Regions from separate parts of the Homo sapiens genome. Here region 1 is linked to region 2. The links are contacts of gene promoters, found by promoter capture Hi-C in blood cells and fetal thymus (Javierre and others, 2016). All regions are on one chromosome and are shown on one strand. The core of a region is centred on a gene start or on the middle of the fragment in contact, and the rest is flanking DNA. Distances in the headings are between cores, read along the strand shown. Region 1 overlaps RNF214 (ring finger protein 214). Region 2 holds the start of APOA4 (apolipoprotein A4).

Evidence for each region. The method cuts DNA at HindIII sites, captures the fragments that hold promoters and counts their contacts. A CHiCAGO score of 5 or more calls a contact.
Region 1: a fragment that was not itself captured here is called in contact with the fragment with the promoter of APOA4 in region 2 in 1 of 17 cell types (naive CD8 T cells); the score reaches 6.3 in naive CD8 T cells.

What each region holds. Positions count from the first base shown.
Region 1 is chr11:117,248,498-117,253,077 of GRCh38, reverse strand. The region is part of intron 6 of RNF214 (ring finger protein 214); the gene reads right to left. Among named protein-coding and RNA genes, the nearest start is that of RNF214, 18 kb to the right of the region's middle. The HindIII fragment of the contact is 9,181 bases long and covers 1-4,580 here.
Region 2 is chr11:116,822,054-116,827,022 of GRCh38, reverse strand. APOA4 (apolipoprotein A4) reads left to right here and starts at 3,719. Exons shown (of 3, transcript NM_000482.4): 1 at 3,719-3,880; 2 at 4,238-4,364. The coding sequence starts at 3,832. RefSeq lists enhancers at 1,216-1,510, 1,365-1,731. The HindIII fragment of the contact is 18,172 bases long and covers 1-4,969 here.

The DNA of each region.
Region 1 (4,580 bases), core at 312-2,811, 430 kb before region 2:
CTGTACCACTACACTCTAGCTGGGCCAACAGAGTGAGATCCTGTTTCTAAAAATAAAAAAATTATAATTACATTGAAATACATAGTGACTACCTTCAAATAGTACAAAGCACTTAGCAGATTTCTATTAAGTAAATTCATCTTTAATTAATATTAATGTGAAATTCCCTTAATTTCCAATCCAGTGATAGAATAAACACTTATCAAATAATTACCAGATATATGGCACTAAAAGAATAAAACATTAAAAAAAATTTCAGGCCAGGTGAGGCGGCTCATGCCTGTAATCCCAGCACTTTGGGAGGCCAAGGCGGGCGGAACAGGAGGTCAGGAGAGCGAGACCATCCTGGCTAACACAGTGAAACCCCGTCTCTACTAAAAATACAAAAAATGAGCTGGGCGTGGTGGCAGGCACATGTAGTCCCAGCTACTCGGGAGGCTGAGGCAGGAGAATCGCTTGAATCCGGGAGGTGGAGACTGCAGTGAACCAAGATCACGCCACTGCGCTCCAGCCTGGGCGACAAAGCAAGACTCCGTCTCAAAAAAAAAAAATTCAGATTCAGTTCATAAAGAAATGGCACAGGCAATTTTGCAAAGAAGGCAGAATTTAAGTTAAAACGTATAAGACAGATAAGACATCTTATCAAAGAATCCCATTATTTCCCTAATTTTCCAAGCCAGAAATATGGGAGTTATCCCTAACTCAACCCTGTCTACCCACATTGATCAGTGCTGCCCCTAAATGTCTTACAAATGTGTTCACTTCTCTCATTCCCACTGGCACTACTTTAGTTTCAGCCATAATTATGCTAACCTAGGCTCTGACAAGATAAGTCTCCTAACTGGTCAAATACACTAATCCAATCCATTTTCCAACTGCCCAAGTAATCTACTGAAAATGCAAATCATAGGCCAGGCAGGATGGCTCACACCTGTAATCCCAGAACTTTGGGAGGCCAAGGCGGGCACATCACTTGAGGTCAGGTGTTCAAGACTAGCCTGGCCAACATGGTGAAACCTCGTCTCTACTAAAAATACAAAAATTAGTCGGGCGTGGTGGCACAGGCCTGTAGTTCCAGCTACTCAGGAGGCTGAGGCAGGAGAATCACTTGAACACAGGAAGTGGAGGTTGCAGTGAGCCAAGATCGTGCCACTGCACTCCTGCCTGGGCAACAGAGTGAGACTCTGTCTCAAAAAATGAAAAAGTAAAATAAAATAAAAATAAAATGCAAATTGTATCATTTGATACTCTCCTCCCTTAAAATCCTTCAATATCTCTATCATGGAAAAACCCAAACTCCTTAACACAGTATAAAAGCCTTTCTGATCTGGCCTCACTCCCCCACTTCACGTCTTGCTTGCTTTTCTCTCACATCTCTGAGCCCCCTGCCGGCAGTGTCTTTTCCTTCATTTGTTGCCTGGCTAATTCTTCCCTATACCTACCCTGACCCCTGCTACTTTTTCTTCGAAAATTTCAAACCAAGAAAAAGTTAATAAAATAATAAAATGACCCGGCCAGCCGCCCCGTCCGGGAGGGAGGTGGGGGGGTCAGCCCCCCGCCCGGCCAGCCGCCCCGTCCGGGAGGGAGGTGGGGGGGTCAGCCCCCCGCCCGGCCAGCCGCCCCGTCCGGGAGGGAGGTGGGGGGGTCAGCCCCCCGCCAGGCCAGCCGCCCCGTCCGGGAGGGAGGTGGGGGGGTCAGCCCCCCGCCCGGCCAGCCGCCCCGTCCGGGAGGTGAGGGGCGCCTCTGCCCGGCCGCCCCTACTGGGAAGTGAGGAGCCCCTCTGCCCGGCCAGCCGCCCCGTCCCGGAGGGAGGTGGGGGGGTCAGCGGGGTCAGCCCCCCGCCCGGCCAGCCGCCCCGTCCGGGAGGTGCGGGGCGCCTCTGCCCGGCCGCCCCTACTGGGAAGTGAGGAGCCCCTCTGCCAGGCCACCACCCCGTCTGGGAGGTGTACCCAACAGCTCGTTGAGAACGGGCCATGATGACAATGGCGGTTTTGTGGAATAGAAAGGGGGGAAAGGTGGGGAAAAGATTGAGAAATTGGATGGTTGCCGTGTCTGTGTAGAAAGAGGTAGACATGGGAGACTTTTCATTTTGTTCTGTACTAAGAAAAATTCTTCTGCCTTGGGATCCTGTTGATCTGTGACCTTACCCCCAACCCTGTGCTCTCTGAAACATGTGCTGTATCCACTCAGGGTTGAATGGATTAAGGGCGGTGCAAGATGTGCTTTGTTAAACAGATGCTTGAAGGCAGCATGCTCGTTAAGAGTCATCACCACTCCCTAATCTCAAGTACCCAGGGACACAAACACTGCGGAAGGCCGCAGGGTCCTCTGCCTAGGAAAACCAGAGACCTTTGTTCACTTGTTTATCTGCTGACCTTCCCTCCACTATTGTCCTGTGACCCTGCCAAATCCCCCTCTGCGAGAAACACCCAAGAATGATCAATAAAAAAAAAAAATTAAAAAAAAAATAAATAAATAAATAAATAAAAATAATAAAATGAATGTCTACCTGTCATCTAAATTTACCAGTTGTTGCATTTTTTTTGCCACATTTACATCATGACACTTAACTCCTAAAACTTCAGCAAGTATCTCTTATGAACAAGAACATCCTTCTACATAATGAAACAATGTCATAATCACATGTAAAATATTTTTTTAATTTCTTAAACTTTTTTCAACAACATGGGTTTATACACCCAAAATACATAACACTGACACAGTATTACTTAACACGTAGTCACTATTGAAATTTTCCCAATTATTCCAAAATGTCCTATAATTATACTTTGTTTAATTCAGGATCAAACCAAGGATCATGCATTTCATTTGGTGGTTATCTTCTGCCCCTTATTTTTCAGGACTCAGTTCTGGAATGATATTCCCTGGGAAGCCCTCTGTGACTCCCCCTACCCAGTATGGGTTATATGCCTCTTTCAGATGCTTTCATACCACCACTGTCATGGTATCATTACACTATTTTGCAATCATCTGTTTATCTATGTCTCTCACAATAAACAGTAATCTCTTTGAAGACTTTTTACTCTCCAGGCCCTACTGTCTGGCTCATAGTAGATACTCAATAAATGCTGGCTGAACAAATGAATGAAAACACTATAAACAGGAAATACAATTGTTATGGACTGAATTGTGCCCCTTAAAACTCGTATCTTGAAGCCCTAACCCCAGTGTAATTGTATTTGGATACAGGGCCTTGAAGGAGGCAATTATGGTTAAATGAAGTCATAAAGTGGGAACCTAATCCAATAGAATTGGTGTCCTTATAAGAGGAAGAGACACCAGGAATGTGCATGCATAGCACAAAAGCCATGTGAGACCAGAAGAAGGCAGCTGTCGGCAAACCAGGAAAAGATTCTCACCAGAAACCAAACCTGCCAGCATCTTTATGTCGGATTTCCAGCCTCCAAGAACTGTAAAATATTCTGCTGTTTAAGCCACGTAGTCAGTGGTATTCTGTTATGGCAGGCCAAGGTGAATAATATAATGACCAAAATCTATGTGTCCCGGTTCCTATGAATGATGGAATGCTAAGCAGAACCTACACCACTGCTAGAACAAAGATACCTACAAGAGACATTCCCCCTGCTTCCGGAAAACTGAACCCCACATTTAACAGAAAGAATGGCAGAAAACATTATTCTCACACCGTGACATATACATTTAAAGAAAAAAAATGGATCTTCAAGAACACAAACACCAAAATTATTAGTATCAATCACCATCTGTAGCAATTCAATCAGATGGAAAAGGTAGTAGAGTTACATAAAGAATGTAAAGAGTAAAAGTGAGTTTGTTGAAGGTAAAAAACAATAAAAATTAAAAATTAAAAAAAGGCTGGGCACGGTAGCTCACACCTGTAATCCCAGCACTTTGGGAGGCCAAGGCAGGTGGATCGCTTGAAGCCAGAAGTTTGAGATTAGCCTGGTCAACGAGTGAGATTCTCATCTCTATAAAAAAATTTAAAAAATTATCTGGGCATGATGGCACTCGCCTGTAATCCCAGATACTCAGGTGACTGAGGCAAAAGAATCACTTGAACCCGGGAGGTGGAGCTTGCATGAGCCGAGATTGCGCCACTGCACTCCAGCCTGGGCAACAGAGCAAGACTGTCTCAAAAAAAAAAAGAATGTAAAGAACACACATCAAAAGGAAATTTTCTGCGGGGCTTAGAATAACATTATAGACTCATCTTCCCAGTTTCTGCACTTTAATATCTCCTGTTAAGTTGCTACATGCCTATGGTCATCTTCCTCACACAGATTGTGAAGACAATGGCAGAGACCATGTCATGGGGTGGGAGCAACTGCTTTGATCACTAACAGTGGCTGGGATAATGTTCTATTCCAGGTACACTCCTCATAATTTCTGGAAAATTATCATTATAGACAACTGACCCACCTTCTAATCATTCAGTATCACTAGATTCTCAACAGAACAACTGATTGGTCTACAAGCCCTCTCTCAAACACAATTCCTCATGTTGAGCTTCACAATTATTATCTTGGAGACTCAGAAAATGATTCAGCACATGAGCTTGCTAACTCAGCAGTCTGACGCAT
Region 2 (4,969 bases), core at 2,470-4,969:
GTCTGCTCCTGACTCTGACCTCTGGACTGACCCCTGGTTTGATCCCTGTGTGGTTGGCCAGGAGGGGTGGCTGTAGCTAATGCTGAGCTATCAGCCTCATTGCCTCACCAATCATTAAGTCTGCCTGTTGCACAGATAAGGAGAGGCTTGGAGAGGCGATGTCTCCCTCGAGATCACACAGGCCTTTCATGCCCACTAAGATGGACGTCCCTGACTCACAGGACCAGGCCTGGCTGGAAGGCAGTCTGCTCTTCCCATCAGCTACTTGCACCCTCTAAGACTGAGCACAGGGGGCTCTCATTCTCTCCCTGCTCCCCAAAACAAATCCATCTACAGATTGATGCAAAACGTACCCTCAGACTTTGGGAAGTAAATACATTCATTAACAGGTCACGTCCCCGCCACGTTGAAAGGCAGCAGGTCCCCTCGCGAGCGTGGGTGCACGCATGGGCTGTGCCAGTCCCTTGGTTCTTAGTGATTTGCACACTTCTGTGAATCCACACACACTCTGGTGGATGCTCTCGGACATGCTCAAATGGTGCAGGCGCTCCCAGCATGGGTGCACCCAGGCGGGCGGGTGAGACAGAAGCGCCTCTGGACCTCTCACATGCTAGTGGCACCGGCTGCTAGGACTGTAAGTCCTGGAGGTCAAACTGCGGCTGAGGTGTCATTCGTGACTCAGTCTCCTCCTCCCCTCTGGCCTGGGGAAGGGACAGGGGCACTGAGTACTGACCTTTGCTCCCGCTGCAAGCTGGACTGTGCCTGATTCAGGAGCAGGGTTGGGACCGATGGGTTCCAGGGAGGTGAGCCTTGCAGGAGTAAGACGTGGCTAACATTTAGTGATCACTTTTCCTATGTGCCAGACATTGTTGCAAGCACTATAAGATCATCTCAGTGAATCCTCACAGCCTAGGAGGCAGGTACAATGGTTATGTCTCACCAAGGTAACTGAGGCTCAGAGAGGTTATGAGACTTGCCCAAGGACACACAGGCAGTACGTGTTGGAGCCTGGATGCCAAGCCAGGGAGTGGACTCCAGCATCTGACCCCAACAATCACGGAGAGATGGCACAGGCTGCATCAAAAAGGAGGCAGCATGGTAGCGTGGGGACCACTACAGGGCAGTGGGGACCCAGCAGAAGGGGTGCCAGAGTCAGGAGGTCATTTGACTGCCTTTGACCCTAGGAAACATTAAGCCACTTCTGGAAACTGAAAAAATGAACACAAAGCAAATTAGAGTTAGTACAATTGTGGTCTACTCTGATGGCGTTCATTTTTACAAATAAATGTAGCTCACTGTTGTCAGGCACTGCACTCACCGACAGGAGCCAATAGTGCAACGTGCCTGGATGTCACCTCATAGTCACTAGGAGTGGTGTGGTCCGGCAGAGGGACCCATGCTGACGTGGTGTGTCACCTTCTCAGTGGATGTTTGTGTGTGATTATGCATGCAGCCTCATTTAGAGATCCAATAGACATCTAAGTAGAAGACCTCCTGGGCACCACCACCATTGCCCTCCATCCCCCAATGGGAGGTCCCCTGAGAGCCTCAGGTCCCAAGATTCTGCTCAAGCCAGCTGCTCCTGCCCAGGGAGTGTGGCTGGGGGGCAAGAAGGGCAGGAGTCAGGCCTCAGGCTGGTCCCACCCATCACCCTGCCTCTGGCCCACCTGGCGCCCCTCAGAGGGCTGAGTCTCACTCTGCCACTCTCACTAGAGGAGGGAGCACTCTGCTACCCTCCCTGCTTTGCTCCAAATCAGGAACACAGTATGATTATTATACAGTATGATTATTATAATAACAGCAACTATTTTTCAGAGCTTACTCTGTGCCAGGAGCTCTATAGGCAGCCCTCTGTATCCTTGGTTTCTGTGTCCATGGATTCAACCAACCTTGGATTGAAAATAATTTTTTAGGCCGGGCGTGGTGGCTCACGCCTGTAATCTCAGCACTTTGGGAGGTTGAGGCGGGCGGATCACGAGGTCAGGAGATCGAGACCATCCTGGCTAACACGGCGAAACCCCATCTCTACTAAAAATACAAAAAAAAAAAAAAAAATTAGCCGGGCGTGGTGGCGGGCGCCTATGGTCCCAGCTACTTGGGAGGCTGAGGCAGGAGAATGGCGTGAACCCGGGAGGCAGAGCTTGCAGTGAGCCGAGATCGTGCCACTGCACTCCAGCCTGGGTGACAGAGCAAGACTCCATCTCAAAAAAAAAAAAAAAAAAAAAAATATATATATATATATATATATATTTTTTTTTTTAAATTGCATCTGTGGGCCGGGTGCAGTGGCTCATGCCTGTAAGCCCAGCATTTTAGGAGGCAGAGATTGGAGGATCACTTAAGGCCAGGAGTTGGAGACCAGCCTGAGCAACATAGCGACACCCCATCTCCATTAAAAACAATGTTTTAAAAAAATTGCATCTGGGCAGGGCGCAGTGGCTCACGCCTATAAGCCCAGCACTTTGGGAGGCCCACATGGGAGGATTGCTTGAGGCCAGGAGTTGGAGACCAGCCTGAGCAACATGGTGAAACCCCGTCTCTGCTGTAAATACACAAATTAGCTGGGCGTGGTGGTGGGTGCCTGTAATCCCAGCTACTCAGGAGGCTGAGGCAGGAGAATCACTTGAACCTGGGGGGCAGAGATTGCAGTGAGCTAAGATCGTGCCACTGCACTCCAGCCTGGGTGACAGAGTAAGACTCCATCTCAAAAAAAAAAAAAATTGCACCTGTACTAAACATATACAGACTTTTTTGGTGATTACCTCCTAAACAATACAGTATAACAACCATTCACACAGCATTTCCGTCGTATTAGGTATTATAAGTAATCTAGAGATTTAAAGTATGTGGGAGGCTGTGCTTAGGTTATATGCAAATACTATGCCATTTTATATCAAGGACTTGAACATCCATGGATTTTGGTATCTGCAGAGGGTCCTGGAATCAATTTCCCATGGAGACTGAGAGATGACCGTACTACCCACTTCGCAAGCAATGTCTTCTTTAATGTACTGAACCATCCCATTGTTCAGAGGAGAAACTGAAGCTCAGGGCTTTGAATAACTAGACCAAGGAGGCACAGCATGGGAGTGGGACATGAAGCACTCTACAATTAACCCTTTCAGGACAAGGCCCTGTCTCCCACACCCATCTGCCCAAAGGCTCTCCAGGGCCCCCTCCTCTTGGGTGTACCTTGACAAGAGACCTAGATTTTAGCTCACTATGCTGTCTGCAGTCCTGGATGGTCCCACTCCAGTGTCTGGTGCTCTGAGATGGAGTCAGCATTAGTGGCGGATGTGGAGACTGGGGGGACCTGTCTTCACTGGGGTAGACAGAGGAGATGTGGACTTTGCCCCCCATGAGCCCGGCACAAACCCAGAGCCGCCAGCAGGGCCTCGAGGCATCAGTCCCGGGCTCATGGGCTCCCTGAGGTGTTTCTCCTACTGTTTTCCGTTCCCCTCCTCCCTTCCATGCTGAGGTTGGTGGGGTGGGGGTGGGGGTGCCCACGCACGGAACAGCCACCACTTCTAACTATCGCCTGAGCCCTGATCTGCTGTCAGCTTCCACGTAGTCTCAGGGTCACAAAAGTCCAAGAGGCCTCTTGGGAATGTGTCACCTTCCAGCGTGGAGTCACACTGAGGAAGGAGGAGGGGAGGGCAGCCAGGGGGGTGGCGATAGGGAGAGAGTTTAAATGTCTGGCTGGCTCTGAGCTTCAGTCAGTTCCCACTGCAGCGCAGGTGAGCTCTCCTGAGGACCTCTCTGTCAGCTCCCCTGATTGTAGGGAGGATCCAGTGTGGCAAGAAACTCCTCCAGCCCAGCAAGCAGCTCAGGATGTTCCTGAAGGCCGTGGTCCTGACCCTGGCCCTGGTGGCTGTCGCCGGTGAGTAGAAGCTGTCTTTGGATGGCACTCCTGGGCTGCTGCTCTGAGTAGTGCAGGATGGAGGCTGAGCCAAAGCAAAAGGACACTTCTGAGTGCCCATCAGCCCCCAGCTGGACATGAGGTCTGCCTGGCTGCCAAGTGGCTCACAGGAGAGCTGGCCCAGTCCCAGTGGTGGGCCCATTGGCATTGGTGCTATACCAGTTTCACATATCCCTGTGGCTTCCAAAAAGCTAAGCTCAGACAGGGAAAATGGCAGGTTGAGGCACCCCCACCATCATCCAGTCTGCAGCTCAGAGCTGGAGCAGAGGGGCCACACAGGAGACGGGGCCTCATGAATTGCTCTCTGTTACCACCCAGGAGCCAGGGCTGAGGTCAGTGCTGACCAGGTGGCCACGGTGATGTGGGACTACTTCAGCCAGCTGAGCAACAATGCCAAGGAGGCCGTGGAACATCTCCAGAAATCTGAACTCACCCAGCAACTCAAGTAAGAGGGACTACAGTGTGCGGTGGTGACGGGGAATTCTTAAAGGCCATGCAATGTACTGGCAAGGGTTGAGCTTAGAGACAGGAGCCCTGAGCTTAGGATACCCACTGCCCTGCCACTAACTGGCCGGGCCTCTGAACCTAGGATCCACATATGTAAACCGGAAGTTTGGACCGAATAATCCCTGCCATGTCCTTTTGCTTTGACGTTCTAGAGTTTGACAAATGGCCACATCCTATCATTCAGGCTCATGGAAGAGAGGGAGGGAGGAAAATGTCACGTGAGCTGATTTCTAATACGTTTCAGAAAGACAGGCCCCAGTGGAATCAAGGGGAGGGAGGTGGGAATATTTGGGAGGCCCCTGGGCACAGGCAAGGAAAGCAGCACCTTGTGCCACTGGAAGACCCCAGCAGAGGTCAAGAAGACAACATTGTGTTACACAATGTGATCCTATGGCCCAGAACACTCCCTCTGGGAAGGACCTCAAAGTCCCACCCTCTGCAGACAAGGAGGGGAAAGCAAACTGCTGGAGGTGACATGGTGGGTAGATTCTGAGACAAACTATGTGGGAGATCCTGAGATAGAAATTCAGCATCGTAACTTAG